Linked DNA regions of Homo sapiens: all the other regions are linked to region 4. The links are contacts of gene promoters, found by promoter capture Hi-C in blood cells and fetal thymus (Javierre and others, 2016). All regions are on one chromosome and are shown on one strand. The core of a region is centred on a gene start or on the middle of the fragment in contact, and the rest is flanking DNA. Distances in the headings are between cores, read along the strand shown. Region 1 overlaps TTC39B (tetratricopeptide repeat domain 39B). Region 2 overlaps TTC39B (tetratricopeptide repeat domain 39B). Region 3 overlaps TTC39B (tetratricopeptide repeat domain 39B). Region 4 holds the start of CCDC171 (coiled-coil domain containing 171). Region 5 overlaps TTC39B (tetratricopeptide repeat domain 39B). Region 6 overlaps LOC124902123 (a long non-coding RNA gene). Region 7 has its middle 200 kb from the start of FREM1.

Region 1 (3,515 bases), core at 130-2,629, 340 kb after region 4:
GCTTAGATGAAGCTTAGACCTCATATGATAATTTCCAAGATTACTTGGGCATAAAAGTCGGCAATCTCGTTCCTTACTTTGAGTGGTTACCAGGGTGACTGGACTCTGGTCATGTGAATCTTAGAGATTGATTGACCTGCTGAGGAGCTGCTATGGTAATTGTGTTAAGATTTAGAATAGCTGTAATCAAGATGGGTCAGCTATTGTTTCACAGGTTAAGAACAAATGATGAAATCGATAATGAAGCCCTGTAGTCTAAGGAAATTTTCCAGTGTTGTCTTCAATATTTGCCTCACAATCTCCACCTTGCCTGTCCTCTGCTTTTTTCCTTCTGTCCTCCTCTGTCCCTCAGACTTCTTTGTCTCCTGTCTCTACCTCCTTTTGTCTGCTTGTCTTTCCCTCTCTCAGTCTCTCCTTCTCTTTTCTCAGCCTACTTGCCTGTCTTCTTTGGGTTTTTAAATGCTTTTATTGATGAGCCATAGTTGTACCTATTTTTGGAGTACATGTGATAATTCCTTACCTGTATACAGTGTTCAGTGATCGATCAGGTTAACTGGGTTATCCATCACCTCAAACATTTATCTGTTCTTAGTGTCAGGAACATTTATAATTATTCTCTTCTAGCTATTTTGAAATAATGATAAATTATTGTTAATTATAATTTCTCTATTATTAAATACTAGAAGTTATTGCTTCCATTTAACTGTATTTTTGTATCCATTATCTCCTTTGATTTTTATTCAAACGAGTCTTTCTCTGCCACTGACACACAGCTGGTCATAACATGGAATGAAAATAGGTGATTTAGTGTTGTGTTCAGTCAGGTTAGTCTCCGATTTTTGTACATGTTTCAGTGTTTAAATGGCTCACGCCTGTAATCCCAGCACTTTGGGAGGCCGAGGCAGATGGATCACCTGAGGTCGGGAGTTCGAGACCAGCCTGACCAACAGGGAGAAACCCTGTCTCTACTAAAAATACAAAAAATTAGCCAGGCATGGTGGTGCATGCCTGTAATCCCAGCTACTCGGGAAGCCGAGGCAGGAGAATCACTTGAACCCGGGAGGCGGAGGTTGTGGTGAGCCGAGATTGTGCCATTGTACTTCAGCCTGGGCAACAAGAGCGAAGCTCTGTCTCAAAAAAAATTAAATAAATAAAAATACTTTTCCCTCACTTGAATCATTTTTTTTTTTTTTTTTGCTTCTTGAAAGAGCTTTCAGTTAAAAATGTGAGGTTTGAAACCACAATTAATGATTAACTTTGGGCTGCTCTGATTCCTTGTGGTTCTTTTGAACAGATAGTGCCCTCAATGTTCAGGACAAGCTGCAAATTACCAAAGGATGTTTAGACTATTTCCATGGAGGCAAAGAATAATGTGGCTTGCATTTGTTTTGCATGGCAGCAGGCTGTTATGCATTAATATTTAAATTAAAAACAAAACCATGCATTACCATTTTAAACCTTATAAATAATTAATACAGCTTAAGAAGTTTTGAGAAAATAAATGATGTTCTCATAGCCCGAGAATCTGGATGTCTGCCATCTATTAGGACTAGTTCTAGTTAACATCCTTAAGAATCCTGAAGCAGTTCTCACTGTAACTTGATGATTTGAAATATCAAGAACTTTAATCAGGAACTTCAGATAATGGGATTAGACTAGATACAAGGTCTGACAACTACTTTGGTCATGGCTCTTGTGACCAGCCTAACTTATTCCAAAATCTTGTTTGCTCTTGGCCTTTGGCTGGCGAGGAGAGGGATTATTTTATATAAGCCTTTATTTTTGAAAAAATATATCAGAATCTCTCTGTCAAAAAATACATTTCCAGCGGCCTTTATTTTAGCACTTATTTCAGAGCCAAAGGCCGTGTGCTGCCCCTTTTTCAACAGAAAACAGTTTGCTTGCAATCTGCCTGCAGGCTGCCCTCTTGTGTTGAAATAGGGAAATGCATATTGTCCCCTTCAACCTGGAACATTTTGTTCTGCCTGTGTGGGTTTACATTGGAAAGTCCTTGGTACTTGAGTTTTTAAGAGGTTACTTTTCACCACCCATATAATTTCAGTGATTATGGTGAAGGAATAAAGGTTACTGTGCAAGTCAGGACATGCATTTACTAGGATTTCTTATGATCAGTATTTCCATTGAATTAAAATGTCTGAATTCCCTGTGTTCTTCCCAGGGCTAAGGAGAGTATGTACCATGCCTTGGGCTACAGTACCATTGTGGTGTTGCAGGCTGTCCTGACCTTCGAGCAACAGGACATCCAGAACGGCATTTCTGCCATGAAGGACGCTTTACAAACCTGCCAAAAGTATGACGAGTCATTAAATACTTAAGATGTGACTGCAAACTTTTATGCCTGTGTGACAAAAATAATGTCATTTGCCTGACCAAAAGCTCTGTGTTTGAAATTGGCCACAGTTACAGAAAAGAAATTCAGCCTCGAAGCTGAAGGATTCCCATTTGGCATCTACATATTCCACTTTTCTTTTTGATAGCCTGGGGTCTGAGCTACAGAGATCTGGGGGGGATTTCGGGGGGATTTCAGTGGGATTAGCAGCAAGCATCTCTCAATGTAGATGACATTAGGTACTGCATGCCAAACCAAGCCACACAAGGAACATTCTTGTTTTAAGTGGGAGATGCAAATTCATGAGGGAATGTTTTATTTGTTTAAGAAGGACCTGTTTTTGAACACTTTTGTTTGGTGAAAATGAGATAGATTTTTAGTTTTATTTTAAGCTTTACTTTGTGTGTATAGGAAGACCCTATCAAAATTTTTTTCAAGGGGTAAGTTATTTTGATATCTTTTAAAAAATGATAGGTGTTTCACAGTATGGAAGATGCTTGGTTTGTGGACATTTAGGAATATTCAAGAATCCAGGAATGGCTGGCTGCAGCACCCTGATCAGATGGATGGGAGGAAATGACCCCTGTTGCTGTCAATTGCTTGATGTGCCCCCCATAGGACTAGGGCAGAAGGTTCATGATCAGAAGGTTAACATGGGTGAAATTACATCCTGATGTAATTGTGTTGTAAGCTCCTCAAATGAAGAGAGCTTCCAAATATTGCACTTTAACTTCATTTTTAACCTGTGGAGAATTTTACCACAAATACTGATTTTAGTTATAGGGATAAGGGAAGGTACTTTGGAGGTTAGTTTTCATTGGTGTGTGTGGGTTTCCCCACGTGGTGTTCAGTAGCACAGACTGAGTTCCCACAAATGGCTAGCCAGTGCTGCATGTAGAGTGTTGGAAAAGGATGATCTGTGTCCTATAGACTTCAGGGTTTAGAGTTTCAGCTTTTTGACTCTTTGGTGTGATAGTGACTGAAATGAACGTCAAATGAAAATGAGCTCAGCCTGATTTTTTTTTTCTATTTTCTATCTCCCTTTTTATTTATTCAATGTAGATACAGGAAAAAATACACAGTTGTAGAATCTTTCTCAAGTCTTCTTTCTAGAGGATCCCTGGAGCAACTGAGTGAAGGTAAAAGTCATTTAAAAGATCACTTT
Region 2 (3,626 bases), core at 487-2,986, 360 kb after region 4:
ATAATCTTTTTGTTGGTGGAGGTCTTGCATCCATGTTGATGGCTGCTGACATTCAGGGTGGTGGTTGCTGAAGGTTGGGGTGGCTATGGCAATTTTTTACAAAAGGACAGCAGTGAAGTTTGCCATACCTATTGACTTTTCCTTTCATAAAAGATTTTTCTATAGCATGCAATACCACTTGATGGCACTTTACCCACAGGAGAACTTCTTTCAGAGTTAGATCCATGCTCTCAAATCTTGCTGCTGCTTTATCAGCTAAGTTTATTTAATATTCCAAATCCTTTGTTGTCATTTCAACAATGTTTGTGGCATCTTTACCGGGAATAGATTTCATCTCAAGAAACTGCTTTCTTGCTCATCCATAAGAGGCAACTCCTCATCCATTAAAGTGTCATCATGAGATGGCAGCAGTCAGTCTCATCTTCAGGCTCCACTTCTAATTCTAGTTCTCTTTCTGTTTCTAACACCTCTGTAGTTACTTTCTCCACTGAAGTCTTGAACCCCTCAGAATGATCCATGAGGGTTGAAATCAACTTCTTCCAAACTCCTGTTAATGTGGACATTTTGACTTCCTTCCATGAATCACGAATGTTCTCTATGATAGGTAGAATGATGAATCCTTTCCAGAAGGTTTTCTGTTTCCTTTCCCTGGATCCATTAGAGGAATCACTATGGCAGCAATAGCCTTATAAAATGTACTTCTTAAATAATAAGACTTGAAGGTCAAAATTACTTCTTGATCCATGGGCTGCAGAATGGATGTTGTGTTAGTAGGCATGAAAACAATATAATCCTTGCATACATCTCTTTCAGAACTCTTAGGTGACTAGGTGCATTTTCAGTGAGCAATAATACTTTGAAATAAATGTTTTTTTCCCTGAGCAGTGGATCTCAACAGTAGGCTGAAAATATTTAGTAAACCATGCTGTGAATAGATGTGCTATCATCCAGGCTTTGTTGTTTTAATTATAGAGCACTGGCAGAGTAGATTTAGGACAATTGTTAAGGGCCTTAGGATATTTGGAATGGTAAGTGAACATTGGCTTCCATTTAAAGTCACCAGTTCCATTAGTCCCTAACAAGAGTCAGCCTGACCTTTGAAGTTTTGAAGCCAGGCGTTGACTTCTCCTCTCTAGATATGAAAGTTCTAGATAGCATCTTCTTCCAATAGAAGGCCATTTTGTCTACATTGAAAATTTGTTGTTTAGTGCAGCCACCTTCGTCAGTGATCTTAGCTAGATATTCTGGATAACTTGCTACAGCTTCTACATAAGCACTTGCAGCTTCACTTAGCACTTTTTTTTTTTTTTTTTTTTTTTGGAGATGGAGTCTCCCTTTGTCACCCAGGCTGGAGTGCAGTGGCACGATCTCAGCTCACTGCAACCTGCGTCTCCCAGGTTCAAGTGATTCTCCTGCCTCAGCCTCCCGAGTAGCTGAGGCTACAGGTGTGCGCCACCGTGCCTGGCTAATTTTTGTATTTTTAGTAGAGGCAAGGTTTCACCATGCTTGGCCAGGCTGGTCTCAAACTCCTGACCTCATGATCCGCCCACCTTGGCCACCCAAAGTGCTAAGATTACAGGTGTGAGCCACCGTGCCCGGCTGCACTTTTTTGTTATAGAGATGGTGTCTTTCCTTAAATTCATGAAACAACCTCTGTTAGCTTCCAACATTTTTTTCTTCAGCTTCCTCACCTCTCTCAGCCTTTATAGAGTTTAAGAGTTAGGGTCTTGTTCTGGATTAGGCTTTGGCTTAAGGGAGTGTTGTGGGTGGTTTGTTCTATCCAGACCACTACAGCTTTCTCCATATCAGCAACAGGGCTGTTTTGTTTTCTTATCATTTGTGCATTCACTGAAGTAGCACTTTTAATTTTCTTCAAGAACTTTTCTTTTGCACTTACAAGTTGACTAACTGTTTGGCACAAGAGGCCTAGCTTCCAGCCTGTCTTGGCTTTTGACATGCCTTCCTCACTACGCTTAATTATTTCTAGTTTTTGATTTCAAATGAGAGGTGCGAATCTTCCTTTCGCTTGAACACTGAGAGGCCACTGTAGAGTTACCAACTGGCCTAATTTCAATTTTGTTTTGTCTGAGGGAATAGGGAGGCCTGAGGAGGAGAGAGATGGAGGAACAGCCTATCAGTAGAGCAGTCAGAACACACACAACATTTATTGATAACTTTCGCTCTTATATGGGTGTGGTTCAGGGCACCCTGAAACAATTACTGTAATAGTAACATTTAAGATCTCCCATCACAGGTCACCATTAACAGATACAGTAATAACTAAAAAGTTTGGAAATTTTATGAGAATTACTGAAATGTGACCCTGAAACACAAAGTGAGCACATATTGTTGGAAAAATGGCATCGATAGACTTGCTCAACACAGAGTTGCCACAAATCTTCAATTTGTAAAAAATGCAGTATCCACAAATTGCAGTAAAACAAGGTATGCCTTTACATATCAGTGAAATGAACCACAGGGTTTTTTGAAAGAGACAGCATGTGTGTGTGTGCACACACATGGACTTACACACACACGCACATACTTACCTGGGAATTCAAAATATACTAAATTCCTTTATATAGATAGGCCCTTTCAAAACAGTGAAGAAAGATAGGTACTTTAGTAAATGTTTTTGGGAAAATTGTTCATTTTATAGAAAAATCATTAAGACGAAAAAAGTCCATATAGGTTTAATATTAAAAGATTTAAAAAGAATTCTAGCAGGAAACATAAGAAAGTACTTTTATAATTCTTAAATATAAAGGCTTTAAACTTTTTTGTTTTTTATTTTTTCACTTTGAAATAATTTGAAAATTATTACAAAAAATTTCCATCACTTGTATGGAAGATTGTAAATCGTCACTCAGATTTACAAATATTAATATTTTGCAGAAGCACAGTACAATTATTAAAATGAGGAAACTGACATGGATACAGTATTCATATTTACTCCATGGCCTTTACTCACATTTCTCCAGTTGTCTCATCAATGCCCTTTTTCTGGCTCAGGATCCAACCCGGGATCCTGGATATCGAGGTTAGCTGTCATGTCTCCTTAGTCTCTTTTCATTCGGAATAGTTCCTCAGTCTTTGTCTTTAATGATGTTGACATTTTAAAAGAATAAACTGGCCAATTATTTAGTAAAACATCTTTCAATATGGACTTTTCTAATGTTTCTTCATGATTAAATTCAGATTATGACTCTATGGCAAAAATACCTTAGAAATGATATCATTAGGTACATGATGTCAGTTTCAAAGGCCTTTTAACTATGGCATAAAATCAGAAATCAGAAGAAATTGATTGAGCTGACCAAATAAACATTCATCATTTTATCTTGGCAAAATGCACCATAATAAAAAATAAATGACCCAGGGGAAATGACAGCAGGGGATGCTTGTAGGCATCTGAATTGACTCTCTAAACCCTTACATTTTTTGTAAACTGGAAGTTAGGTCTATAGGCTTGCTAGATTCAGATTAAAAATATTTGGCTAGACTGGATCACAAGTGTAGTTGCACATTTTATAATTGCATCACACCAAGTGATTCATGATATCTCATTATTCCTTATTATTAAAAATATATTTGCCAATTTAATAAGCAATTCCCAGGTATTATCA
Region 3 (3,583 bases), core at 575-3,074, 320 kb after region 4:
GATACCATTTCGACTCTAGATTACAAACATGGTGGCTTCCAGAGCACATCAGTTGGCCTATCTACACTCATTCCTTTTCTCCCCTAAGGAGAGATTTTAACGTTGATGGAAAACCTTGAAGGACATATTTTTATTCATTTTTGAAATTTTATTTTAGTTTTAAATATGGACTAGCTTTTATCTCATTGCGCAGGAACATAACATATTGTGTTGGATTTATTGGGGAAGTTAAATTTGAATTGGCTCTGCTATCTATGATTTGATTGAGAGAAAAAGTATAAACAAAGATAGCTGTAAGCTTTACCCTCGAAAATAGTTGTACCTAGTGATTAAAATTAGAGCAGTATTCAAATGAATAATAAAAAGATAAGTAACTCAATTAAAAATGGGAAAATAATCTGAATAGACATTACTCCAAAGAAGACATACAATTGGCCATTAAGTACTTAAAAAAGATTCTCAACATTATTAGTCATTAAGCAAATGCACACCAAAAACTACAGTGAGATACCACCATATCTCATGGACAAAAACAAGTATTGGCCAAGCTGTTAAGAAATTGGGAATCTAGTACATTATTGGTGGGAATATAAAATCACATAGCTGGCCGGGCATGGTGGCTCATGCTGGTAATCCAAGCACTCTGGGAGGCTGGGGTAGGAGGATTGCTTGAGCCTAGGAGTTCAAGACCAGCCTGGGCAAGATGGCAAGGCACCATTTCTACAAAAAATAAAAATTAAAAAAATCGGAAAAATCACACAGCCACTTTGGAAAACAGTCTAGTAGTTCTTCAAAATGTCAAACATAAAGTTACCACATAATGTAGCAATTCCACATACCATAATTTAGCATTCCATAGCAATGCTAGATATATAATTAAGAGAAATGAAAATACATGTCCACACAATAACTTGTTTGTTTTTTTTTTTTTCTGAGATGGAGTCTCACTCTGTCACCCAGGCTGGAGTGCAGTGGCACAATCTTGGCTCACTGCAACCTCCGCCTCCCGGGTTCAAGCAATTCTCCTGCCTCAGCCTCCCGAGTAGCTGGAATTACGGGTGTGCACCACCATGCCTGGCTAATTTTTGTATTTTTAGTAGAGATGGAGTTTTGCCATGTTGGCCAGGCTGGTCTTGAACTCCTGACCTCAAGTGATCTGCCCTCCTCGGCCTCCCAAAGTCCTGCTGGGATTACAGGAGTGAGCCACCATGCCTTGGCCAAGAACTTGTACATGAATGTTCATAACAGCATTATTCGTAATGGCCACAAAATGCAAATTATTCATATATTATCAACAAATGACTAACAAAATGTGGTATAGCTATACAATGGAATAATATTAGGTAATAAAAAGGAATAAAGTACTGTTACATGATACCACATGAATGAATCTTGAAAACATGCTAACTGAAAAAGCCAAGCATAAAGACCATACTTTTTATGATTCCATTGATATGAAATGTCCAGAATAGGCAAATCTATAGACACAAAAAGTAGATTAGTGGTTGTTTAGGACTAGAGGAGGTGGAGTGGAGAATGAGGAGTGACTGCTAATATATGGATACATTTTGGTGACAAAATATTATAAAATTAGATTGTGGTGATAGTCTGTGAATATACTAAAAACCATTGATTGTAAACATTAATTGGGTGAATTTTATGGTCTGTGAATTAGGTCTGAATAAAGCTGTTTAAAAACTTAAAAGTTAGAGCCGTTAAAATAGGGCAAAATAAGGGCATATATTCCAATGTACTAATAGCTGTAATTGAAGTTTGGTGTGTTATTTTTCGTAGCCTCCAGTATAAAGATTTAGCATGGCTCTTTTGCAAGGGTACATGCATATCAGTGCAGTGTTCAGATATTAAAAGCCTTTATTGAAGGAAATAAGAGAAGACCTGAATAAATGTGTAAAGATGTGAAGATGCAATGTTATAAAGACAACAATTCTCTGTAGATTTCCTAATAATGTAATGAATTCCCAGTCAAAACTCCAGCAGGACTTGCTTGTAATATTATAATGACTAACTCTGAAATTCATAAACAAGAATGTAGGTGTAATAATAACAACCCCACAAAAAGAGTGTTTAATAAAGTAGAGAACTTGCCCCAGTTGGCTTACAGGTCTCGGAAAGCCATGATAATAAAAACGGTGTGACTAGTGCAGAGAGAGGCAAATATGTGATGGAACAAAAGAATGCCCAGAAACAGACCTGAGCACGTATGGAAAATTGCTGTGTGTAAGAGATTGCAGAATAATCCAGTATGTCAAAGTATCATAATTATGGAATCAACGCATGTCAGTGAGGAAATCAGCAAGATGGTAAACCTGGTAACAGCATTTGGAGAACTGAGGAAAGAAAAAGTGTTGAAATAAGGTTTGTTATGCACAACACTGGTTAACCTCCGGCAAGGTAATAAAACCATAATCTTACCACACAGAAATTATTTGCATATCTACCAGATTAAAAAATCTACAAGTTAACATAATTTTACAGAGTATAGGTTTTAATAGTAAATAGCAAGCCAAACAAGATATATACTCCCTAGGGAATTAAATGTTCCTTGGGTGGGCCTGTCAGACAGTGCTCCAAGGTGACCTTGAGAGGACATGCAGTCTTCCTTTTGCCTTGTTTCCAAGCTCTTATAACAAGTAGATGAGTTATTTCTTGCTTATCCATGCAGGAAAGAATTAAATGTAGCTCAGACTGTACACAAAAATGGATTCTAGATTATATTTGTGTGTTTGCAATAGTATTTTCTCTACTTTATGTATTTGAAGCATTTCTTATTAATGAAATGAGAAAATGCATTCTTAAAACACTAGACAGTACTTTCAATAAATGGGTTATGTCTATATCTAAAAAAATCCTGTTTAATAAAAAAATTAGTTTGTGGCATGATATGCTTATTGTGATATTAACATAAATCTAGAAATACTGTAGAATTTCCATGAATTCGTGTACATGTGTATACAAACATAAAGAACTTGAAGAATCTGAATCTAATCTTTTATACCTCAGAAAAGATGAATAAAATGTAACATTATTTTGTTAATAATTATTATATTCTGCTAAAGTCAAGTCTGTTGTGCCAGGTAAAGATACAATAATTTTAGCTTTTATTAACAGATTAATTTAGGCACAGTAATATTTTAACTAGTTTGTTTGAGCATAAGTGATTCCTGAATTGAATATCATTAGAACACAAGCAGTTCAGTGTTCTACTTAAGGAGTGGGAGGGGGAAACTTATGAAGTATTTAAAGAAGCAAGACAAATAAAATACTTGACTGGAACAAGTGGGAAGTTCTTAGTTAGAGGTGAGTTGGCGGTTTCTGATTGGCTAAGCTTAAGTTTTGTTTTTACTGTTTACGGTGAGTTGAGTTTCCATTTGCTCGTATAGGAACCATCTTTGCTGAAGGCCTCCCAATTCATTATTACTGTTTTTATTTTTTGAGATGGAGTGTCACTCTTGTCACCCAGGCTGGAATGCAGTGGTGCAATCTTGGCTCACTGCAACCTCCGCCTCCCGGGTTCAAGCAATTCTCCTGTCTCAGCCTCCTGAGTAGCTCGGATTACAGGCAC
Region 4 (3,450 bases), core at 812-3,311:
CTACTTTAGATTTCGGAGCCACTACTGGTAAAAAATTTTTCTACCTTACATCTGAGTCCTTCAGTTGGTCATCCCAAATGCACTCATCTTTCAGTGTGTCTGCACAGATCAGAGGAAAAACGAGGGATGGGTGGATGAAAAAATAGAAATTCCTATTATTGAGCCACTTACTATATGCCAGATACTGAGATCAGCATTCCTGATCTCATTTAATCCCAACATCTCTATGAGATTATGCACATTTCACAGATAAGAAAACTGAGGCTTGGAGATGTTGAATAATTTGTGTAAAAATATTCAGCCGGAAAATGAGAATTCAAATCCACATCTGGCTAAGTCCATCCTCTTTCACTACGCAGTGCTGTCTTCATTAGTAACCACACCTGTGTTGGAAGTGTTTCTCAGCATAGGTACATAATCAACCTTTAAAGGGGAAGTTTGGTTCTTACATCAAAACAAGACCAAGACCAAGGGACTGAGACAACCAAAACGTTTTAGAATCAAATGAGACTTTAGAGACTAAGTCCTTCCTCCTTATCTGACAGATAAAGAACCTAACGCCTAGGAAGGTTAGGTGGTTTGCCTGTGGGGACGCAGCTCATAAATGGCTGAGCCCCAAGACTAACACAGAAAGCTACAAACTAAGACTATGCCCTTCATCTTTCCTCTTAGCAGGTTGCACTGCCTTTGTTTCCTCTGCATTTTATGAAAAACCATGTTCATCTTCTGCTCTACCACTGTTTTGTTGAGAGTAGGAACTAACAGTTAAATAAAATAAGTGACATGCCGGGCGCAGTGGCTCACGCCTGTAATCCCAGCACTTTGGGAGGCCGAGGCGGGCGGATCACGATGTCAGGAGATCGAGACCATCCTGGCTAACACAGTGAAACCCCGTCTCCACTAAAAATACAAAAAAATTAGCCGGGCGTGGCGGCGTGCGCCGGTTGTCCCGGCTGCTGGGGAGGCTGAGACAGGAGAATGGCGTGAACCCGGGAGGCGGAGCTTGCAGTGAGCCGAGATCGCGCCACTGCACTCCAGCCTGGGTGACAGAGCAAGACTCCATCTCAAAAAAAAAAAAAAGTGACAAAATCGTATGTTCTTTTCTCCAATATTATGAAAACCATAAAACATCGGTATGTCATGTATTCAAAAGAGCTGGACACCAACTCTAATAAACAAAATAAAGACGTATTTATCTCATTTACCTAAAATGTATACATGAAATATGTATTTTCTTAGGATCAATATCATAATGGAATAAAAAAATTCAAAAAGTCGGCTCCATTTCTGCAGAAAATTTACAGCTTCGGGAAAACGCACAGCTGACTCAGATTCTAAGTCTCTCAGAGTCCTGGAGGGTAGGTAGAAGCTGCAGGTGACAGTCTAGCACAACTCATTCCCGTTTATCAAACATCTGTAGAGTGTCTAGTGTGTGGCCGGCATTTAAAAAGGGGAGAGCGGGCTGAAAGACGTGGTCCCTATCCTCGAGGGGCTTACTGATTCTCGGGAACGAAAGCGCTCCGCAGCAGTAACCCTAAGAAGCTCCAAATCCCGGTCCTCTGCCTCCCCTCTGGTCCCCATCCGGCGCTCTGGTACAGCCTCAGCGATCTCTGGCTAGGATGCTCCACGGAGATCTTCCTCCAGGTGGGCGGGGAGACCCAGCCCAGGGAGCTGGAGGCGTGCCCCAAAGCCTACGCCAACAGCCCCAGGGCCGCCCCAAACTCACTCAGGGGCCCCTACAACCCTCTCAACACCTCCCTCCCAAGTCGTCCGCCTCGAAGCCCCCACACCGTGCGGTTACCTCAGGGGTCTCGCGTGATCCGTGCTGCACACCCAAGACCCCAGGGGCCGCTCCAAGTCTCACGGGTGAAAGGAGGCCCAGGCAGCCCACGGGAATAAGAGCAAAAACTGTTGGAACACGACGGACTCCAGGACCCGGGAGGAGGGGGACAAACAGCAAAGGGGTACAGAAGGGGAAGAGCCCCCGGGAGGTGAAGTTTACAACTGCCACTTCCGGAGCTGAAAACACTCCGCTTCTCTCGCAGACCTTCCCAGACTTTCACAGGTCAGCCCAACTCAGGCCCGGCCCCACTTTTTCCTCCCGCCTCCCGCAGCCCTCAGCTTGCAGCTCCTGGATACGTACTCCGAGAACGCTGGCTCGGATTGGAAGAGCCCGCCCGCCAAGCAGCGCGCCTTCGCTGAGGGACGAACGGGCGCATGCGCCGTTGCTGGGGAGCGGCGGGCTCGCGACCGCACGCGCTCTCGCTCCAGGAGCTCCGCGTCCCCGCGCGGGGGTGCGCCCTGCCCACGCGCTGCTGTGGCTTTTCAGCGTGAGGTGTCCGCGTTCCTGTCTCAGTCGCCAGAGCCGAGTGGAAATGCAGATTTCCAGCTTCTAACCCCTTTTCCCTGCCTGCTGAATAAAAACCTAAGAGGTCGGATCCCAGATCCTGCTTTTTGAAACTGGTTCTTCTGCCCATCTTTAGAGCCACAGCAACGGTGGGCTGGTCCCGGGGCCTGGGGAGAAATTCTCTGGGCTCGGGTTCTGCCCAACTGCCTGGTTTACCTCTGTCTGGACAGCTCTCTGCCTGCACAGGGCATCCTGTCCCCTCTTCCCGTCCCCATTGTATCCCAGCTGGGAGTGGTGAGCAGGGTCGGAAGAATGCATTGATGCTGCTTGCAGTGCGTTTCATTATCAACATTACGTAACCAGGCACATCGTGGAAAACGCCTCGGAGCCTTAGCATGTGTGTTCCCTATCTCTTTCCTCGCTTCTCTCACTTTTCTCTGACACACACACACACACACACACACACACACACACACACACACACACCGTCCTCTTATTGATAATTTATACTTTGGTTCCTCCCGGTGGCTGCTTCACAATCTGCTGCCGCCTAAGGGAGACTGGAAAACCAACTCCTCTTTTGTTCCTTAACTTTTGAAAGCCTATTCTTCCAGAGAACAATGCAAATTGACAGGATTTGGTCAAAGATTTTTATCTTCACCACCACCACCTCCTCTGCACAAAAAGGTGTTTAATGCAAAACGAGCCTTCTATACTAAACTGGGTCCTTGTTGATTGTAATCAACCTGAAACCAGGTGTAGGGGCCGTCTTTTCTCTCTCCCATGGGAGAGCCAACGGTCATAAATGCAAACACAAATTGAGATTAAAACCTCCTTGATTCTTGTAGCACTGAAACCTTAATTGGTTTGATTTTAGTCATTTACATCTAAAACGGAGGCCTGTCCCTGATTCTTTTTACTAGAGCCATAAAGAGGACAATTGCTCCAGAGGAAATAAAGGGAAAAAATAGCCCACTCTAAAGTTTAGAAATGAAATGGAAAATTACAACTGACTAATGAGATTAGAACTTTTATGTTACAAGCTTTAAAAAATATTTTTAAATTTTATTTTTTTCTTTTTCTTTTTTTTTTTTTTTTTTTTG
Region 5 (3,391 bases), core at 376-2,875, 380 kb after region 4:
AGAAAGCAGTTATAGCTCACCCATGGGCCAAGGCAGTATGTAAAAGTATTCCATTTTTCTGATTCTTAACAATTCTGGTAAAGGGAGGTCAACATAAATGCTCTTAGGCAGGTTTTAAATAATCTTTGGATTTCTATGGCCCCCTTTAAAGACATTGGCCTAATTCTTATGTAATTATTGGCCAAACCATTGATATTTACATGTGAGAATTGGAATAAGTAATTTTGACGTCATTAAGTAATTCTGCTGCCTTTGTTGCAGTTGTTTCATTTGAGTTTCTTGAGTGATCGATCATGTGATCATGCTAACCATGTTTATATGCACCTACCTTAAAATTTTCCAATTTAAAAAAGGAAGTCTAATTATTTAGGACTAGTTCACAAAATTTGTACAGCCCTTCTCACAACTTCTTGCTATGCTTGTGAATGATTTGGTAATTAAGCAGAACCTTGCTACTCAAAGTATGACCTTTAGATGACCACCAGGAAGCTTCTAGAAATGCAGATTATTGCAGTTCCCCCCAAAACCCCCCAACAGAACCAGAATCTGCATTTTACTAAGATCTACGGTTATGTATATTAGAGTTTGAAAGTAAGTAAGTAGATCAGAGAGAGGAATGGGAGAGTGGTGGTACCTGGTATATAAGGAAATTTTGACTGTACAATTTTATTGTTATTGTCTTCAGGAACAACTACAAAGATTACTCCCTGGAGTCCAGACTACACTTCAGAATTCAGGCAGCTCTTCACCTCTGGAGAAAACCTTCCTCAGATTGATCAGAACTTGAAGGATGGAATTTTTCCTCAATTAGCATCGGCATCTGCTATAGATTCAACCTTATATTAAAGTGGAAAAATGATCTTGTGAATAAGAGACAAAAAAACAGTTTTTTTGGTCAATATTTTCTATCATCTGAGAGATTTACTGTTGGTCTACATAATTTTTTTTCCTATGGAATGGCATTCTATATTATCTAGAAAATTCTTATATTTTGCCTCCCCCAAAAGAATTTCATATTATTTGAATTAGGGGGCGAAGAAGTCTTTTGAAAGACTTGCAGATGCAATAGTCTAATTAGATTATTTATTTTTTTAATGTGAAAATTAATATTGTTTAGCAAATAGCTTACAAGTTGAGCCAATTTTGGATTTGTTGGGTAGTTAAACTTCAGAGATATTTTGTTGCCTGTATTTAAATTTCAGAAGATAAATAAATATCATTGCATTTAAAATAGCTTAACAGTGACCTTCAGAAGACTTCTGAAAAAGACAGTCTGAGAACATGAACACGGATCGATATAATGTACTTCATGGGTTGAAGAGACCTTTCTCTATAAAGGATGATGCAGTATTCAGTTAGTGGTTTTTTACTCTTCATTTGATTAAAGGTGGTGACGTTTTGGAGAGACTGATTTTGAATGTACTTAAGTCTATTATAATAACAAAATTCAAAACCCCTGTGTATCTAAAGGGAAGGAAGTGTCATATTTTAGGAATTTTTCTTAACCTTAGCAATGAGAGCCTAAAATACATACATGGATTATTTTTCTTCTAGGAAGTAAATTTCCTGCTGCTTTAAATGATATGTAAAATATCAATAATTTTTACACTTAAGATGTTGGTAAGACCTAGTTTTCTAATCTCTCTAGCACTGTGATGTCTCCTTGTAGATAATCTGGACCTTGCTTAGTCCTTTAGTTGGGAAACAGAATCAGGGCATAGAGCAGAAGAGAGCTTGACACTCCATATGGTCCTGGTTCTGCTACCCATTAGCGATTAGTGAGGAGACCTTTAGGGAGTCCACTGTGCCCTGTGTGTCACCACATTTTCTTCTGTGAAATCAAGATTAAAGAACAGATGACTTTCAAGGTCTTTTTCAGTTTTATAACTGTGAGTCTATGTATTAGGTATTTATTTTCAACAAATGACTTTAAAATGTCGAATGCAAACCATTCCCACTTGGAGTGTTTTATTTTTCAATCATCATCATTGCCCCCAACTCCCCACATGTATGTGTTGTGGCATCCAGAGTGAGAAAAGACAATTTATGAGTTGATGAATCTGGGCCTTATTTCTATTTCCATTTTGAAGAATAACTTGTCATAGAAGCCTCTGCAGTTTAACAGAAGGAGCCACATATTGGGAGTCACGAGTTCATCTCTGTGGGTTAATAGTTCCATGACACGGAGTACGTAGCTCAGCTTTTCAGGGGTTCAGTTGCCCCACTATGGATAGCGGTGTGGTATTTGGTACTTGTGAGGGCTCAATTAGATAAAACATATGATAGCTTTTTGTAAACTGTAAAAGGCTATACAAAAGTATGAATTATTATAATAATTATGGTTTTTTATGTCTGGATTACAGTATCAACACAAAAGTATTGGCTGATACTGTGGTTTGTGTTGTAAAATGAAAGAAGTGTAGAAATTCAAATACCTTACTGTGTATTCATGTGTTTGATGTTGACAGTAGGCTACCCAGGTTATATGAACCTGCTCCTGCCGTTCCCTGCCACATGGACCTGTATCAAGCAGTGTGTGGCTTGTTTTCTTCAAGGTACTGATTCTTGACCAACACTGAGGATGTATATCCAATGAAAGATAGATATCAATGGCGGTAGATATCAATGTGTTATTAGTAATACAACTTTAGGTACAGACAAAATAGAAAATAAAATTAACTGTCATTATAATTAGTAGTGGAAAATACATTAAAAATTATTTGTGTATAGCTTTGGAAAAAAGTTTTCCAAAAAAAGCTTTTTGGAAAAAAGCTCTTAGAAGAGCTTTGGTAACATTATTTTTGAAAGCGCACACTCACATTGTGACTGTGGGTATACTGAGCATATATTCTTACATTGTTACTGTGAGAAGCTGCAAGTCAGTGCTGCAAGTCAGTAACAAATTCTCTTTTGGGGATAAAATGAAACAGTTTTAAGCTTAGAGTGGCCATTTTTATTTTAACTCTGCATTACTAAACAAATATAAAAGAAATTCATCTCCATTTAAAAATCTTTTTTGTTATTTATATTTTGTTTTATTTTTGTTTCCTATTCTTTATGCAGTTACCTGATACTATGGACAGTATATCCAGTGGATCTTTTAGTACTGTAATATCAAAATGCTACAAATATTTATGTTTCCTGCTATGTTCAAGATATTGTAGTGGCACCAACTTCTTGGGCATCAGCTAATATTGCATTTTGGAGTCATTAGGGTGTTCTGTGAAGAATGAATACTGAAGTGACAGTTTTATCTAGTTTTTTGAGGGGCATTTATGATGGGGTTGGGTTGCCATTGTGTCTGACAGTGCAATTCATGTAGTTCCTGGCATAATTGCCTTTTTTTTTTCCTTAATGGAGAGGCAGGGTTCTGATTGGTGCTGTATAAATT
Region 6 (3,386 bases), core at 146-2,645, 400 kb after region 4:
CCTTATGGTTAGGACCGTCTGGGTAGGTTCAGTTCATTTGTAGAACAAAGATTTCTGTTGCAATGCTCTTTTAGCCATCCAGCTTCATTCGTTTTAAGGGCTAGACCTTGTTCTTCAGCCATTTGGCAATCTGTGTATGGAGTACTGGATACAGTGTGGTTTAGTGCAGTGGTTCCCAGCTTTTCACATCTTAAATTCTACAAATCTTTTTTCGGGGAATGGGGAGGACGAGGTGGAGAGGCACCTGTTATTGCTGTCTAAGCAGAAAGTGAGATGGCGTGAGGGTGCGGGGAGGGACGGTATTGCAGATTGGAGCACTACCATGTACCTTTAGGATGCCCTCCTCCTCATCTTCCTAGATGAGCTCTGTGTCCCTAGACTTAGTTTACACAAACACACAAAAAATAGTAAGTGTCCATGATTTTGATTATCAAAATAATCCTTGGCTGGATAATCATTCTTGGGCGATATTGTTGGGGCGAATGAGGGGACTGAGGGAGCACAAAATCTCAATAACTGATGCTAAAACCCTGTGTCCCCCATTTGGTCATGGAGCAACAAGTCAATACCAGGTCAACAGAATCTTCTATACTTAAAATCCATTTTCGTGGCTCTTATACAAGCCACTGGGAAGCCCACACATTCAACATTTGTTCCATTTTTCCTTCCAGATTAACTTTATTTTTCCACATCCCCGATAGTGATTTTTCCATTAACATTTGATGCTCAATTTTCATTTTCCCTAACATTGGTCCCTGGAAGTCTTCCAAAATCTTAGGAAGCATAATAGATTTGATTTCATCTTGTTCCTTTCTCACCTGTTTTTTTTTTTTTTTAATAAAGCTGGTTTCTTTCTTTATTTGAGCAATCTTCTGCTCTCCAAAGGAAGACTCTTTAAAGCTTAGTCCAAAGGAAAAGACTCCTATTCCAAGGCCAGCAAATTTCTTCCTCCACGTGGCCTCTAGCAGCCAGCCAGCCACCAACTGGCCTCTTGTTACAGCCTTTTGTTGACTCTCTTATGGATGCTGCTAACAGTCTCTAGCTTTCCAGCCACTTTCAGCTCTTCTGACAGTAGCCCCTTTTTGGGAAGGACCTGGAGATGAGGCTAAGGCTGCGTTGTTCCCTATCTTTGTTGGATGTGTTGCAATAAAACAACACAGGTAATTCACATTTGAGCTGGAGATTAAACTCAGGTTGGGCTTCCAAGCTGTCACCTGGGACAGTCATTGAGGTTGTGCTTCTTTATCCTGGTTTGTGGCTTGGACGTTTGTTTAGCCTTAAAACAGGATTTCAAATGACCAAAGGAGATTCTGTTGGACTTTTCCTTGGCAAACTCAGGAAGGTATGTCGTGCTTTCAGTCTTCACTGGCTGAGAATGATAGATAGAAGGAAAGCTGGGAACCTCCTAGGCCTTTCATCCCATTCTGAAGTCTCTGGGTTCAGACCTCAGTTCGTGTGTAATGTGGACGATTGATGATTGCAATGGATGTCATTTTTGTTGTTATTCCAAGCAAATGTACACTTTTTTCTTCTCTATGGTATATTTTATTTGTTTTGTTATACCAAATTGTTCAAATAATGTTGAGTATCAATGACCGGGCACCTACTGAAATAGGAAGGGTTTTAAATGGTAGGCAATTATACAAAATTAAAAGGATGAAAATGGCAATTAATGGAAGAAACACAGATACCAAAAATGAAATATTAAGAAAAGAGTAGAAAGTCTGCCAATAGGACATTCCATTCTTTAGTTTGGGGAAAGGCCCTCATGCAACATTTTCTGTGCATTTCCAGTGGGCATAGGTGTCTAAGTTCTAAAACTTCTTTTCTAAGTAGGCCTAATTCAGAGAACCCAGCTTATTAGATATAAGTGCAAGAAAACAAGCTTTATAGCCATTTACCTCCACCCTTTGACTGAGTGGGGAAAGGGAAAAAGGAGGGAATTAAGGTCCCGGCACTCATGCTTCAAGGCCAAGAACTGCATTGTGGAGATCTGTCTGGGGAGGGTGGCTGTCACGCTGCAAACCTCAGAGGTGGGCACTGTCAGCCCCATCTGCTCAGGAGGGATAACAATGCTGCTGGTGGGACTTTGGGCAGATCATATAATAGCGTGGACCAGAGTCTGTTGTTTCCAGATGCCCCAGGGGAAGGCCAGAGAAAGGCTCCTTCTGAGTGAGGCTGACTGGGGGTAGTCAGAGCACTTATGTAGAGTGGCTAGGCTTTATTGGAGCAGACCAATACAAAAAAAGTACTAAAAAAACCAGTTTCACTAATAATTAAATGAAATTCCACTCACTGCACTTTAACCAATAAAATATCTTTGTTTTTTTTTTGTATACTAAACCCTACGTAGACTTGAACCAATTCAGAAGACAGTCTGTTGGCCAAAGGGCAAAATCCACAGCACCAGGTAGCATTTGCTTGAAGTTCCAAGGCACCACGAGAGATTGCTTTCCCCCAAGACTACCAAGGCAGTGTATATATGTGTGTGTGTTCTTGTATGCACACACAGCACACAAAGGACAAGTCTCTTTGCCTTGTGCAGAAATATTCTGATTGTTTCAAGATTGAATGAGCTTTCCCGCTTTCCCACTTTCCCACCTTGTCTTCCACCTGTGTGAAGTTCGTCCATGAGAGGGGTCTGCCCCACTGAAAATCTCCCATTTGGTTTTGGAGCTGCAGGAGCAGCAGGCTCAGGCAAGTGCTTCAATCCACTTTGCCAAGCTTTCTGCTGTACTCCAGACAACTTGGCATGCTGCAGCAGGGGCAAAACACTGACGTCCTCTTTTCCTTTTTTTTTTTTGAGATGGAGTCTTGCTCTTGTTGCCCAGGCTGGAGCAACCTCCGCCTCCTGGGTTCAAGTGATTCTCCTGCCTCAACCTCCCGAGTAGCTGGGATTACAGGTGCCCGCCACCATGCCGAGCTAATTTTTGTATCCCTAGTAAAGACGGAGTTTTGCCATGTTGGCCAGGCTGGTCTCGAACTCCTAACTTCATGATCTGCTCACCATGGCCTCCCAAAGTGCTGGGATTACAGGCGTGAGCCACTGTGCCCAACCCTCTTTTCCTTTTTCAAATGTCAATGGAAAGTTGATTGGAAAGGACAATTTGGCTACCTTTTGGTACCCTGCAGGATTACCTTTATATCAATCATTTGCTGATGCAGGGACTTTCAGAAATTTTGTGGTCTCTTGCAAACAGCCTTGGCAAAACATAGACCTTCAGTATGTGTTGAATGAACCCGTGGATTGCTGGTGTCAGAAGTCCTTTCGTGGACTTGCCTCTGCTGGGGACCTCAGGTTGTGTTGCCTTCTGGGAGGGCCACAGAGAATAGACAGAAAAGAAATCTAAAAGATTCTTATGGGTTTAACACAGGACTCGGCCTTA
Region 7 (3,338 bases), core at 373-2,872, 450 kb after region 4:
TTTTTATTGCTACAAAAAATGCTGTTGTATTTTTTGATAAGAATTGCTTTGAATCTGTAGATTGCTTTTGGGTAGTATGTCCATCTTAACAATATTAAATCTTCCAATCCCCAAACACTGGGAGCCTTTCCATTTATTTGTGTCAACTTTAATTTCATTTAGTAATAGTGATATTTTCTAGTTTTCAATGTATAAGCTTCTCACTTCCTTGGTTAGGTTATTCCCAAGCATTTTATTCTTTTTGATATTATTATAAATGGAATCGTTTTCTTAATTTCCTTTTCAGATTGTCCATTGTTAGTATATAGAAATACAATGGGTTTTTTTGTGTCAATTTTGTATCCTGCAATTTATACTGAATTTATTAATTCTAACAAGGTTTCTTTTGGTGCGAAATCTTTAGAGTTTTTTACATATAAAATCGTGTCATCTGTGAACAGTGATAATTTTAACACCTTTCCAATTTGGATTTCTTGTATTTCTTTATTTATCTATTTTTTTTTTTGAGACAGAGTCTCGCTCTGTCACCCAGCCTGGAGTACTATAGCATGATCTCGGTTCACTGCAACCTCTGCCTCCTGGGTTCAAGCAATTCTCCTGCCTCAGCCTCCTGAGTAGCTGGGATTACAGACATATGCCACCACGCCTGGCTAATTTTTGTATTTTTAGTAGAGACGGGGTTTCACCATGTTGGTCAGGCTGGTCTCCAACTCCTGACCTCGTGATCCGCCTGCCTCGGCCTCCCTAAGTGCTAGGATTACAGGCGTGAGCCACTGCACCCGTCTGTATTTCTTTTTCTTTCCTAATTGTTCTGTTCTTGTTTAATTGTTCTGGCTATGACTTCCAATACTATGTTGAATAGGAGTGGGGAGAGCAGTTATTAAGCCTTTTTCCTTATCTTAGAAGAAGAGCTTTCAGTCTTTCACCATTGAGTGTAATGTTAGCTGTAGGCTTTTCATAAGTGGCTTTTATTATTATTTTATTTTTTTGAGACAGAGTCTTGCTTTGTTGACCAGGCTGGAGTACGGTGGCAGGATCTCAGCTCTCTGCAACCTCTGCCTCCCAGGTTCAAGTGATTCTCCTGCTTCAGCCCCCTGAGTAGCTGGGACTATAGGTGTGCACCACCACGCCTGCTAATTTTGTATTTTTAGTAGAGATGGGTTTCACCATGTTGGCCAGGCTGGTCTCGAACTCCTGACCTCAAGTGATCCACACGCCTCGGCTTCTCAAAGCATTGGGATTAGAGGCATGAGCCACTGTGCCTGGCCTCATAAATGGCTTTTCTTATGTTGAGGTAGTTTCCTTCCTGTCCAGGTTTATTGAATGATTTTTATCATGAAAGGGTGTTGAATCTTGTCAAATGTTTTTTCTCTATCAATTGAGATGATGATGTCATTTTTGTCTTCCATTCTGTTATTGTGGTATATTACATTGATTAAATTTTGTATGCAAAACTCTCCTTGCTTTTCATGAATAAGTCCCACTTGGTCATGGCATATAATCCTTTTAATGTGCTGTTGAACAGTTTGCTAGTATTTTCTTGAGGATTTTTACATCAATATTTATTAGGGATACTGGTTTGTAGTTTTCTTTTCTTGTAATTTCTTTGTCTGGTTTTGGTATCAGAGCCTAATAGAATGAGCTTAGAAGTGTTCCTCTTTAATTTTTTGGAAGAGTTTCAGAATTGATGTGAATTCTCTTGAAATTGACTTGAATTCTTCTTTAAATGTTTGGTAGAGTTCTCCAGTGAAGTCATCTGGTCCTGGGCTTTTCTTTGTGGAGAGATTTTTGATTACTGTTTCAATAATTTACAAGTTTCTGATCTCTTCAGATTTTCTATGTCTTCATGATTCAGTCTAGGTAGGGTGTGTGTTTCTAGGAATTTATCCATTTCTTTTAGGTTATCCAATTTATTGACATACAACTGCTGAATTGTTGTTTTGTTCTTCGTATAGCTTCTATCTCTGTTTGATATTCACATTTTGTTCATATGTTGTTTTTCTGATTTCATTTAGTTGTCTATCTGTTCTCTTTTAGTTTATTGAGTATCTTTATGACAGTTATTTTAAATTGTTTGTCAAATAACTCATACATCTGCATTTCTTTAGGGTTGGTTTATGTAGTTTTAGTTTGCTCCTTTGATTGGGTTATGTTTCCGTGTTTCTTTGTACATCTTGTAAATTTTTTTCTTTTTTGGCTGGGATTTGGGCATTTGAAAAAGCACCCACCTCTAACAGTCTGCATACTGGATTTGTTCAGGTGGAACCCGTCACCAGTCAGTCTACTTATCTGTTCAAGCACCTTTCAAACCTTTTCTGATCTCTTGCTCCCCCTGGCATCTGCCTGTAGAACTGCACATCTAATGTGCTGCTAGACTTTGTTTTCAGCAGCGTCTGATCCTGCCTCTGCTCTAAGTCAAGCAAAACCAGACTCTCAGACAGCCCCCCTACATGCCAGAACTTTGAGTGCAAAGTCTGCTCTTTTGTTTCTGTTCTGAGGAAGGACCCTCAGTTTGAAGATTTCCTCCCAATTTCTCCATACTATACTGTGAATGTGCAGAAGCATGAACTGGTGCACCAACTGCCATAAGGCTTTCTACCCCTTTTCTGGAATCCTTTCTTCATTTTACAATGGCCTGGGTGCTATAGCATCTCACCTGGTCTCTGGAGTTCTCACAGGGGCATTCTGGTCCATATACTGTTGTTAACTTGGTGTCTCTGTAGGGGAAAGAAGGGCCTGTAGCTTCCTAGTCCATCATCTTGCTAACATCACTCTGACACCTATTTCTTCTGCAGACATTTAGGAATCAAAACACTAGGTGATTATCAAGTCATATTGACTACAGCTAAAAAACAGTGCCTCTATGTCTACTACATGAATTAAGATAAAAAATATTGAGCATCAGTGTTTCTCCATGGAATCTATAGTGAAGAGGCTTTGGCTCCTAGAGAGTGGAACCAAGTAGGTAGAAAAGAATTTTCAATCCAGGGAGAATGAGAACAGCTGGAGAAGTAGGCAATTTTTCTAGCAGTTCATAGGGGAAGCTTCTAGAAAAACCTGCAAAGAACTCTGATTCATTTGATATCCAGGAAGTGGGGATTCTGAAGGATCTGCTTCAGTGGATCTGAGAATGTATCAGGCTGCCTATAGCTCTATCCAGGTGATCACAAGATCAAGGTGACATCTGTGCTAAGGGAGATTTGAAGAGCACCTCTTTAGTCAGCAGCTTATTGGAGGAAATGAATGTCTCCTAAAAGGAAATATCTAAGGAGATAGACCGTGTTCTATCAAAAAGCAAAATGTCAAAGGTATCATCAGAATATAGCATAGGTTGGAGA

Evidence for each region. Contacts are between HindIII fragments. The CHiCAGO score rates a contact against its expected background, and 5 or more counts as called.
Region 1: a contact is called between a fragment that was not itself captured here and the fragment with the promoter of CCDC171 in region 4, in 12 of 17 cell types (activated CD4 T cells, total CD4 T cells, total CD8 T cells and 9 more). The highest score is 12.2, in activated CD4 T cells.
Region 2: a fragment that was not itself captured here is called in contact with the fragment with the promoter of CCDC171 in region 4 in 6 of 17 cell types (non-activated CD4 T cells, activated CD4 T cells, naive CD8 T cells and 3 more); the score reaches 9.0 in non-activated CD4 T cells.
Region 3: a contact is called between a fragment that was not itself captured here and the fragment with the promoter of CCDC171 in region 4, in 8 of 17 cell types (total B cells, activated CD4 T cells, total CD4 T cells and 5 more). The highest score is 11.4, in total B cells.
Region 5: a contact is called between a fragment that was not itself captured here and the fragment with the promoter of CCDC171 in region 4, in 1 of 17 cell types (activated CD4 T cells). The highest score is 5.6, in activated CD4 T cells.
Region 6: a contact is called between a fragment that was not itself captured here and the fragment with the promoter of CCDC171 in region 4, in 4 of 17 cell types (total CD4 T cells, M2 macrophages, non-activated CD4 T cells and 1 more). The highest score is 8.5, in total CD4 T cells.
Region 7: a contact is called between a fragment that was not itself captured here and the fragment with the promoter of CCDC171 in region 4, in 2 of 17 cell types (M2 macrophages and fetal thymus). The highest score is 5.1, in M2 macrophages.

The regions. Positions count from the first base shown.
Region 1 is chr9:15,210,062-15,213,576 of GRCh38, reverse strand. TTC39B (tetratricopeptide repeat domain 39B) reads left to right here. Exons shown (of 20, transcript NM_152574.3): 5 at 2,180-2,311; 6 at 3,413-3,489. Among named protein-coding and RNA genes, the nearest start is that of TTC39B, 95 kb to the left of the region's middle. The HindIII fragment of the contact is 2,730 bases long and covers 15-2,744 here.
Region 2 is chr9:15,193,364-15,196,989 of GRCh38, reverse strand. The region is part of intron 8 of TTC39B (tetratricopeptide repeat domain 39B); the gene reads left to right. Among named protein-coding and RNA genes, the nearest start is that of TTC39B, 110 kb to the left of the region's middle. The HindIII fragment of the contact is 5,285 bases long and covers 1-3,626 here.
Region 3 is chr9:15,228,335-15,231,917 of GRCh38, reverse strand. All of the region lies in intron 2 of TTC39B (tetratricopeptide repeat domain 39B), which reads left to right. Among named protein-coding and RNA genes, the nearest start is that of TTC39B, 77 kb to the left of the region's middle. The HindIII fragment of the contact is 3,048 bases long and covers 301-3,348 here.
Region 4 is chr9:15,551,654-15,555,103 of GRCh38, reverse strand. CCDC171 (coiled-coil domain containing 171) reads right to left here and starts at 2,061. Exons shown (of 26, transcript NM_173550.4): 1 at 1,802-2,061. RefSeq lists enhancers at 1,754-1,923, 1,819-2,464 and silencers at 2,204-2,293, 2,304-2,363. The HindIII fragment of the contact is 6,396 bases long and covers 1-3,392 here.
Region 5 is chr9:15,169,404-15,172,794 of GRCh38, reverse strand. It overlaps TTC39B (tetratricopeptide repeat domain 39B), which reads left to right. Exons shown (of 20, transcript NM_152574.3): 20 at 686-3,391. The coding sequence ends at 776. Among named protein-coding and RNA genes, the nearest start is that of TTC39B, 140 kb to the left of the region's middle. The HindIII fragment of the contact is 2,268 bases long and covers 492-2,759 here.
Region 6 is chr9:15,151,568-15,154,953 of GRCh38, reverse strand. All of the region lies in intron 2 of LOC124902123 (a long non-coding RNA gene), which reads right to left. Among named protein-coding and RNA genes, the nearest start is that of TTC39B, 150 kb to the left of the region's middle. The HindIII fragment of the contact is 985 bases long and covers 903-1,887 here.
Region 7 is chr9:15,104,006-15,107,343 of GRCh38, reverse strand. No RefSeq gene overlaps it. Among named protein-coding and RNA genes, the nearest start is that of FREM1, 200 kb to the right of the region's middle. The HindIII fragment of the contact is 2,848 bases long and covers 199-3,046 here.